3 separate regions of the Homo sapiens genome follow, and all the other regions are linked to region 2. The links are contacts of gene promoters, found by promoter capture Hi-C in human tissues and cell types (Jung and others, 2019). All regions are on one chromosome and are shown on one strand. The core of a region is centred on a gene start or on the middle of the fragment in contact, and the rest is flanking DNA. Distances in the headings are between cores, read along the strand shown. Region 1 overlaps PCDHGA1 (protocadherin gamma subfamily A, 1). Region 2 holds the start of SLC25A2 (solute carrier family 25 member 2). Region 3 overlaps PCDHGA1 (protocadherin gamma subfamily A, 1).

The links. Contacts are between HindIII fragments. The study calls those that stand out against the background at their distance.
Region 1: a contact is called between a fragment that was not itself captured here and the fragment with the promoter of SLC25A2 in region 2, in 2 of the 25 tissues and cell types used here (fat and pancreas).
Region 3: a fragment that was not itself captured here is called in contact with the fragment with the promoter of SLC25A2 in region 2 in 9 of the 25 tissues and cell types used here (H1 embryonic stem cells, aorta, dorsolateral prefrontal cortex and 6 more).

Annotation. Positions count from the first base shown.
Region 1 is chr5:141,437,387-141,440,732 of GRCh38, forward strand. All of the region lies in intron 1 of PCDHGA1 (protocadherin gamma subfamily A, 1), which reads left to right. The region is part of intron 1 of PCDHGA2 (protocadherin gamma subfamily A, 2); the gene reads left to right. The region is part of intron 1 of PCDHGA3 (protocadherin gamma subfamily A, 3); the gene reads left to right. All of the region lies in intron 1 of PCDHGB1 (protocadherin gamma subfamily B, 1), which reads left to right. It also overlaps PCDHGA4, PCDHGB2, PCDHGA5, PCDHGB3, PCDHGA6 and PCDHGA7, and 11 more genes. Among named protein-coding and RNA genes, the nearest start is that of PCDHGA12, 8.6 kb to the left of the region's middle. The HindIII fragment of the contact is 5,098 bases long and covers 1-3,346 here.
Region 2 is chr5:141,302,696-141,306,115 of GRCh38, forward strand. SLC25A2 (solute carrier family 25 member 2) reads right to left here and starts at 1,354. Exons shown (of 1, transcript NM_031947.4): 1 at 1-1,354. The coding sequence starts at 1,170. The coding sequence ends at 265. The HindIII fragment of the contact is 6,230 bases long and covers 1-3,420 here.
Region 3 is chr5:141,459,999-141,463,177 of GRCh38, forward strand. All of the region lies in intron 1 of PCDHGA1 (protocadherin gamma subfamily A, 1), which reads left to right. The region is part of intron 1 of PCDHGA2 (protocadherin gamma subfamily A, 2); the gene reads left to right. The region is part of intron 1 of PCDHGA3 (protocadherin gamma subfamily A, 3); the gene reads left to right. The region is part of intron 1 of PCDHGB1 (protocadherin gamma subfamily B, 1); the gene reads left to right. It also overlaps PCDHGA4, PCDHGB2, PCDHGA5, PCDHGB3, PCDHGA6 and PCDHGA7, and 10 more genes. Among named protein-coding and RNA genes, the nearest start is that of PCDHGC3, 14 kb to the right of the region's middle. The HindIII fragment of the contact is 8,589 bases long and covers 1-3,179 here.

The sequences.
Region 1 (3,346 bases), core at 608-3,107, 140 kb after region 2:
TCCACTGCTTTCATTCCAGAAGTATTATGCTTTTTGAAGCAGCAATAGCATAGGAATGTTGAGGAGACTATACTATACTTTTATAGCATATTTAATCTCGTAGATCACTTTTCAATGAATTATAAGGCTGATGACAAATGAGCAAATTGTATCAGTTTTCTTTATGACATGTAACAGAGTATAGCTGTGATCATGAATTGGATAGTTCTGGTGTAAAAATCTGCTTTATCCCCATATAAGATGTCAGGTTCAGAAAAGCAAACACATAGTTTCGAAGAGATGTTGATCAAACTGATGAGGCTAAATCTCAAGAAAGAGACACAGTTACCCTCTAATGTTACACTTTGAGTTCACCTTTTTTTTTTTTTTTGAGACAGAGTCTCAATCTGTCGCCAAGCTGGAGTGCAGTGGCACTATCTTGGCTCACTGCAACCTCTGCCTCCTGGGTTCATGCTATTCTCCTGCCTTAGCCTCCCGAGTAGCTGGGACTACAGGCACACGCCACCACACCCAGCTAATTTTTGTATTTTTAGTAGAGATGGGGTTTCACCATATTGGCCAGAATGGTCTTGATCTCTTGATCTTGGGATGCACCCACCCCACCTCAGCCTCCCAAATAGCTGAGATTACAGGTGTGAGCCACCATGCCCGACCACTTTGAGTTCACTTTTAAGAAACCATACTTAATGGAAAATTACCAGTAACAGGGCATACTGTTTAGGATGCATTCCTAAAATATTAATGGCAAAAGATAGCCAGCCTATGGCAAAGCTAATTGGAAAAAATATTTTATAAAGGATGAGACTTCTGGATACCATATGGGAAGGGCTCTGGTTCAGGAAAATGTTTTTAAAAAACTGTCATTGAAGAGACCATAGAATCAAACAAAATAATTTAATCTGTATGTAAAAGAAGTTGGTACCACCATAATTTTTCTTATACATGTCATATAAGGATCTACTCTGTGTATTGTCATTGAGGGCAGATATAATTTCTTAGTTCATCATTAACTCTCTGAAGTATTTCACACAGTAGTTTGTACACCTTCTAAGTACTCAATACAATGCTTGAGTTCAATTATTGGAAAGTGGTCTCTTGGAGAAAAAAGAATCATAGTGCAAAACCAATTATTTTACATGGACTTTTCCTCTATATCTAAGCCCTAATAAGAGGCAGCTGTCTGATATACATACATACATACATACATATATATATATATATATATATATATATATATATATATATATATACACACACACACACACATATATGTATATATATATTTGGAGTAGGGGATGGAGTCTTGCTCTGTCACCCAGGCTGGAGTGCAAGTGGTGTGATCTCAGCTCACTGCAACCTCTGCCTCCTGGGTTCAAGCGATTCTCCTGCCTCAGCCTCTCCAGTAGCTGGGATTACAGGCGCCTGTCACCATGCCCAGCTAATTTTTTAAAATATTTTTAGTAGAGACAGAGTTTCATCAAGTTGGCCAGGCTGCTCTTGAACTCCTGACCTCAGGTGATCCACCTGCCTTGGCCTCCCAAAGTGCTGGGATTATAGGCATGAGCCACCGCACCCTGCCAACTGTCTGACTTATCTTAAAAGGCTAAGGACCTGGTTTGTTTGTCAAATTTTGAAAATAGATGCCTCAGTTCATAAGATTTCCATATTGTGTGGCAGGCGCCTGTAATCCCAGCTACTCAGGAGGCTGAGGCAAGAGAATCACTTGAACCCGGGAGACAGAGGTTGCAGTGAGCTGAGATCACGCCACTGCACTCCAGCCTGGGCGACATAGTGAGACTCTGACAAAAAAAAAAAAAAATCCATATGTGAAAATTCTTAGAAGCTTCCTATACAATTTCAGCTGAAGATTCAGCCAACAGTTCATTCTGAGACTGTGTTCCATGGAAAAAGTAAAGCCCAGGCATGGAAGTGGGAATGGAAAGAAAGATTCTAAGCCTACAAATACTCAAACATCAAGAAGAAATAAAAATAAGTCATCACTTCGACTTCATGTGCTAACATCACTGAGGTTATAAATTCCCAGGAATATTTTATTGCGGGAGCAAGACTGCACTGCTGCCTTTCAGCTTGCAAATTCCAGTGAGAAACGTCTTTCTCTCTGCTCTCAACTAACTCTACAGAACGCTGTCCTCTCATTTCTTCAGGCTGCAGTTCTAGAGTAGGGACTCAGAGTGCCACTGTTGGCCAGTCTGGAAACAGAGATAAATGAGCCAATCCCCAGACATTCCGGCTTGGTGGCTTTTCTAATTTCATGGAATGCAAATCCAAGAGCAGACCCACAACATTCCTATTATGGCTCCTAGTTCTACAAATTATAAGCAGGAACGGAACGGATTTACAGGCAATGAGTTCAGCTCCTTCTTGGCTGGAGATTCTATAATCCAAGAAGAGTTTGAAAAGGGGCTTATTTGGGCTGGAGCAGCAGCAACTCTAACTGTGGAAAAGGTGGGGAATGGTGCTGGACTGACAGTCTGGGTAGAACCAAGGCGACTACTGCCTCCTTTCCTGCTATTTCTATCCTGCTGGGCATTCTCTATGATGCAGATCCGTTATTCAGTCCTAGAGGAGCTGGCCAAGAGTTTGGTGGTGGGAAACCTTGCCAAGGATCTGGGACTCAGTGTCGAGGACATGCCCACTTGAAAGCTTCGGGTTAATGCTGAGGAATAATACTTCATTCTAAGTGGGGAAAGTGGAGACTTACTTGTGAATGACTGAATGGATCAGGAGCAGATACGCCCCCCAATTATAGCTTGGGCCATAACGCTTTGAAATAGTTGAAGGCCAGGCATGGTGGCTCACACCTGTAATCCCAGCACTTTGGGAGGCCGAGGCGAGCAGATTACGAGGTCAGGAGTTCGAGACCAGCCTGACCAACATAGTGAAACCCTGTCTCTACTAAAAATACAAAAATTACTGGGCATGGTGGTGCAGGCCTATAATCCTAGCTACTCGGGGGGCCGAGGCAGGAGAATCGCTTGAACCCGAGAGGCAATCGCACCACTGCACTCCAGCCTGGGTGACAGAGCAAGGCGCCATCTCAAAAAAAATGAACAAACGGTAGTTGAAAATTCTTTAAATGTTTTTCACATTAATATGGAGATTCAGGATATGAAGAATCATGCACCACGGTTCAGCAGGAATGTTATTAAGTTACGTATCTCTGAGTTTACCCAGCTGGAACAAGATTTGCAACAGAACCTGCAGAAGATCCTGATGTTGAGAGAAATTCCTTACAAAATTATCACCTTAGCAGCAACTCTATATTTCTCTTTGAAGTAAAAGTGACCAACAGTGGAAAGACATATGTTGATCCTGTGTTAGAGAA
Region 2 (3,420 bases), core at 104-2,603:
TACATAGGGCCAACCAGCCCACCCTGTACATTCCAGCAAGTGCAAGAGCAGCAACTTTCCTATTTCAATACAATTATGGGCAGAAATTATATGATGTAAAATAGAGGCCCTTCCATAAAGTTAAGATTTAGGGTAGAAGAAGGGAAGATAAAACCAAAATTCCCATGAAGTCAAAATTAGACAGTGGTCTTGTACTCTGCTGAACCCTGTGATGAACTGTAGTCCTCAAACTCATGGACTCGGATCCAGGTTCACCAAGACACTTCAGTATGCTTCCAACTGTTTCATCATCATCTTCCTGCTGTATTCGTAGGCCACAAACAGTGCCCCATTGGCAGGGATTGCTCGAATCATAGTAGCTTTCAGTCCAGAATATAAGGCTACTATTCCTTCATTTCTCACAACACTTAAGAGGGTACCAATAAATCCTGCCTGTTTCCCATACATGGAAAGAACTTGAATTCTGGATTTAATACAATCCACTGGGAACACGACAAGCCACAGGCAAATTCCAGCAACTCCACCACTTAACATCAAATGGACAGGGCCTAGTTCATCTTTTGATCTCCCTGACGCAAAAAACGATCGGCTCAGTTCATAGCCACCAAAGAAAAAGAAATAACCCGGTACTTCTTGAAGTAGAGTACTCGAGAGTCCATGGTAGAAGCCCAAGGGGCCATCCTTTTTAAGGATACCCTTCACGACAGACCAAATTGTATTATGGCTTTTTGCTATCTTCCCTGACATCTCCATTTCATACATGGTCTGTAGCCGGCACTTCACAAGCTCAGTGGGGCAGAGAGCCAGTGCAGCAAATGCAGAGGCGAAGGACCCCGCGGCTGCAGTCTGGAGATCACTCAGCTTTGCCTGCTTGTCCATTCCAGCCACTTTCCTGACAAACTGCTGGCAGAACCCGTAGCACATGAAGAGGACCGAGTTTTCGGCGACGTAGGCCATAAGTGCCGGGCCGGTGCCCTTGTAGAAGCCCCGGAGACCCACTTGAGCGTATGTCTTCAGGAAGCAGTCGGTGAGGCCCTTGTACAGGTCAGGGAACGTCTGCATCTTCACTTTTATTGTGTCGAAGGGCTGCCCAGTCAGTACACACGCTGTCCCCCCTGCGGCCCCCGCTGTGAGGTCGATGGCGGCTTGGATGCCAGGACCGGACTTCATGTTCGCTCACTCGTCTGAGGGTCCCAGTGGAAGGCGACTAACTCCCCAGAGCGTGAGACCGGCTTTTCACGTCCAGCCGCAGCGAGCGCGGGGAATGGAGTTGGGGGTGGTGGGGTGGCTCTACCGCCTGTTCTGGGCTCTCACCCCAGTGCGGGGGAAGCCGCTCAACCCTACGCTCCGCCGCGGGCCGCCCCCTCCCCGCGCACTAAAATAACCCCCAGCTGCCGGCCCAGCGCGCGGCTCACTAGCGTTCCTGCGGCTCCTGGCGCACTGGCCGGGCCCCCAGCCGCCTCCAGCCTGGAGCCGCCATCCCTGCACCCGCAGGCGGGGGACGCGGACCGAATAAATACTTTTAGTGTACTGCGACTGGGCGCGGTGGCTCACTCCTGTATCCCAGCACTTTGGGAGGCCGAGGCGGGAGGATCGCTTGAGCCCAGGAGATCGAGACCAGCCTGGGCAATATGGCAAGACTCCATTTCTACAAAAACGAAAAAATACCCGGGCGCGATGGCGCGCGCCTGTGGTCCCAGCAATTCAGGAGAATGAAGCGAGGATCGCTTGAACCCGGGAGGTCGATGCTGCAGTGAGCTATGATCGCACACTGCACTCCAGGGTGGGCGAAAGGGTGAGGCTCTGTCTCAAAACAAAACCAAAACCAAGAAAACATGTAAAGCTTTTCGATAAATTCTTGCAATTATGGCCGGGAACTCTAGACGCCGCAGTTCAGCTGGCGGCAAAAGAAATGCTGTCCTAATCAGTCAGCCCTGCTTCTTTTCTTTTCTCTCTTTTTTTTTTTTTTGACTTAGGGTCTCACTCGGCCGCCTAAGCTGGAGTTCAGTGGCGCGATCCTGGCTCACTGCAGCCCCAATCTCCTGGCCTCAGGCGATCCTCTCACCTCAGCCTCCTGAGTAGCTGAGACTAGAGGGACTACAGGCGCAAGCCACCACATCTGGCTAAATTTTGTATTGTACAGACGGGGTTTCGCCATGTTGCCCAGGCTAGTCTCGAACTCCTGAACTCAAGCAATCCACCCACTGGCCTCCCAAAGTGTTGGGGCTTACAAGCATGAACCACCACACCCGGCCTATCCCACGCTTCTTACCATGCAAAAAACAAAAACAAACAACCCGAAAAGAAGATGCCCTCACTTGAATAGACCCTGAATTCAGAGGGTCAATCTACAAGAAAACTGCTTTAAAGTAGATAAGACAGGCCAGGTGTGGTGGCTCATGCCTGTAATCCCAACACTTGGAGAGGCTGCGGAGGGAGGCTCATTTGAGCCTAGGAGTTCAAGGCTAGCTTGGGCAGCAAAATGAGACACCCCTTACCCCCTACAAAAAATAAAGTAGAGAAGACAAACTGTCAGAGGCGCTGGAACCACAGCAACTCCATCTTGACTAGGGACTGAGTAAAATAAGGCCGAGACCTACTGGACTGCATTCCCAGGAAGACAGGCATTCTAAGTCACAGGATGAGATAGGAGGCCGGCACAAGATACGGGTCACAAAGACCTTGCTGATAAAACAGGTTTCAGTAAAGAAGCCAGCCAAATCCCACCAGAATCAAGATGGCATAATAAGTGACCTCTGGTCGTCCTTACTGCTCATTATACGCCAATTATAATGCATTAGCATGCTAAAAGACACGCCCACCAGCGCCGTGTCCACTTACAGATGCCATGGCAACAATAAGAAGTGACCCTATGTGGTCTAAAAAGGGGGAGGAATCCTCAGTTCCGGTAACTTTGGACCCCTTTCCCAGAAACCTCATGAATAATCCACCCCTTGTTTAGCTTACATTCAATAAAAAACTGTAAGTATCCTTAGTCAAGCCGCCCAGGCCACTGCTGTGCCTATGGAGTAGCCATTCTTTTGCTTCTTTACTTCTCTAATAAACTTGCTTTCACTTGACTCTATGAACTTGCCCCAAATTATTTCTTGCATGAGATCCAAGAACAATCTCTTGGGTCTGGATCGGGACCCCTGTCCGGTAACGAAACGATCTGAGGGTTGCTACATGAGAGACAGTGACTGCTTTTGATCAGAAAACCCTCAGCGATCTGCCCACGCTCCTCACTTTCCTGGGGGGCAAGGAGGGGAGTAGGGCACTGTGGGAATCCTTAGCCCTGGAGATGTGCTACTGCTTTCCTGCAGAGCTGGAGAAATGCTATCACATGGCAACATCCCCAAGGATCTGGGGTTGCAGCCCTGGGAACTGGTGGAACGTGGAGTCCTTATCATTTCTGAAGAT
Region 3 (3,179 bases), core at 576-3,075, 160 kb after region 2:
ACCCAGGAGGCGGAGGTTGCAGTGAGCCGAGACTGCACCACTGCACTCCAGCCTGGGCAACAGAGTGAGACTTCATCTAAAAAATAATAATTATACATGTAATTATATATGATTTTTATATATGTAATATATATATTCTTGATGTGAGCTCTTTGTCACATACATATTTTGTGGATATTTTATCCCAGACTATGACTTGTCTTTTCATTTTCTTAGTTGTGTCTTTTGAAGAGCAGAAGATGTAATTTTGATAAAGCCCAATTTATTTTTTCTTTTATAGTTTGTATTTCTTATGTCCTATTCAAAAACTCCTTGCCTACTGAAAACTTATGATGATTTTCTCCTATATTTTCTTTTAGAAGTTTTATAGTTTTACCATTTATAATTTGGTCTATGAATCCTTTTGAGTTGATGTTTATGTATGGTGTATGGTGTGAGGTAACAATGAAGATTCATATTTTTTTCCAAAGGAATATCCAATTGTCTCTTTGGAAAAATATGCTGAGAAGGCTATCTTTTCCCCACCAAATAATCTTAGCACCTTAATCAAAAATCATTTGGCCATGGACATATGTAGGTGTGGGTTTTTTCTGGGCTCTCTGTGTTAGATGGATAGATAGACAGATACAGATATATAACTGTGTTTACACATATGTAACTGTAAACACAGTTATATATCTATATATCCACCAACAGTTGAATGAGAATAAACTATTGTTATAAGCATATATACACATTGTATATATATGTGTACATATACATATTGCATATGTATGTATACATATATACACACAAAGTATATATATGTATGTATACATATATACACACTTAAAGTAATGGCCTCCAGTTCGATCCAAGTTGCTGCAAAGGACATTATTTCATGCCTTTTCGTGGCTGAGTAATATTCCATGGTGTATATATATATATGTGTGTGTGTATATATATGTATTATGTATATATATATGTGTGTGTGTGTGTGTGTGTGTATATATATATATGTGTATATATATATACCACATTTTCTTTATCCACTCATTAGTCGATGGGGACTTAGGTTGGTTTCACATTTTTGCAATTGTGAATTGTGCTGCTATAAACATATGTGTCCAAGTGTCTTTTTCATATAATTACTTATTTTCCTTTGGGTAGATACCCAATAGTGGGATTGCTGGATTGAATGGTAGATCTGTTTTTTGCTCTTTAGAGAATCTCCATACTGTTTTCCATAGAGGTTGTACTAATTTATATTCCCAGCAGCAATGTGTAAGTGTTCTCTTTTCCCCACATCCACACCAACATCTATTGTTTTTTGACTTTTTAATAATGGCCATTCTTGCAGGACCAAGGTGGTAGCTCGTTGTGGTTTTAATTTGCATTTTCCTGATGATTAGCGATGTTGAGCATTTTTTCATATGTTTGTGGGCCATTTGTATACCTTCTTTTGAGAAATGGCTATTTGTGTCCTTTGCCTACTTTTTAATGGGATTGTGTTTTATTTTTCTTGGTGATTTGTTAGTTCCTTGTAGATTCTGGATACTAGTCCTTTGTCAGATGTGTACTTTGCAAAGATAATATTTTGGATGTTATATTTCCATTATAATTTAGTTCAAAGTATTTTCTAATACACCTTGCAATTTCTTCTTTGACCCATGGATTATTTTAAAGTTTGTTATTTTGTTTGTTTATTTTGAGACAGAGTTTCACTTTTTTTGCCCAGGCTGGAGTGCAGTGGCACAATCCCGGCTCCCAGATTCAAGCGATTCTCCTGCCTCAGCCTCCCAAGTAGCTGGGATTACAGGTGCCCACCACCACACCCAGCTAATTTTTTTTTCTTTTTTTTTTGAGACAGAGTTTTGCTCTTGTTGCCCAGGCTGGAGTGCAATGGCACGATCTCGGCTCACTGCAACCTCTGCCTCCTGGGTTCCAGCAATTCTCCTGCCTCAACCTCCTGAGTAGCTGGGATTCCAGGCATATGCCACCACGCCAGGCTAATTTTGTATTTTTAATAGAGACGGGGTTTCTTCATGTTGGTCAGGCGGGTCTTGAACTCCCGACCTCAGGTGATCTGCCCGCCTTGGCCTCCCAAAATGCTGGGATTACAGGCATGAGCCACTGCACCCAGTCCAATTTTTTGTATTTTTAGTAGAGATGGGGTTTCATCATGTTGGCCAGGCTGGTCTTGAACTCCTGACCTCAGGTGATCCGCCTGCCTCGGCCTCCCAAAGTGCAGGGATTACAGGTATGAGCCACCATGACCAGCCTAAAGTGTATTGTTTAGTCACCAAATATGTAAGTATTACCCAAATATATTTGTCACTGATTTCTAATTTAATTGTATTGTGATCCAAAAATATACATTGTATAGTTTCTATTCTTTTAAATTCGTTAACATTTCTTTTATGGCACAGAATATGGTCTATCTTGGTGAGTGTTGCTTACACACAACTGTGTAACTGAAAACTGTGTATTCTGCTTCTCGTGGTTGTTGTATCCTATAATTGTCAACTAGATCAAGTTAGTAAGAGTGTTGTTCAGTGATCTTTTCTTCTTCAGTGTTTACTGTATTTGCTAATCCCATCCAGTGAAGTTTCCATTTCATATATTGTATTTTTCACTTTTAGAAGTTCCATTTGACTCTTTCATTTCCATCCTCAATTATCTTCATATTTTTCTTTAAATTTTTGAGCACATTTATAATGGAGGTTTTAAAGTCCTTGTCTGCTAATTTTGTCACCTCTGTAATTCCTATGATGATTTTCTTCCTGGCTTGGGGTCATAATTTGTTGCTTATTTGCATGTCTAATAATGTTTTTATTGGACAGCAGACATTGTAAATGTTATATTTTTGAGTGTTTGGATTTTGTCTTTCTTTAAGAACTATTGCAGTTTGTTTTGGAAGGCTATTATGTTTTTTGCAGATCAGGTTGATCTTTTCAAGGCTTGTTTTTAAGCTTTGTTAGGACAGGTCTGTAGTAACTTTTGCCTTGGGCTAATTTAGACCTACCACTTAATTCTGACTTTTTTGATTAATCTGAGTGTTCAGCAGGGTCTCTTTATTATGGCTAAATGAAATTCAAACATTTTCCAGCCCTATGTGACCATCAAGAATTCAGCTAATAGCTCCCTGGCAGTTCTTCGCCCAGCTGCAGAAAAGTGTCAGTGCACTCTATGTATGCTCA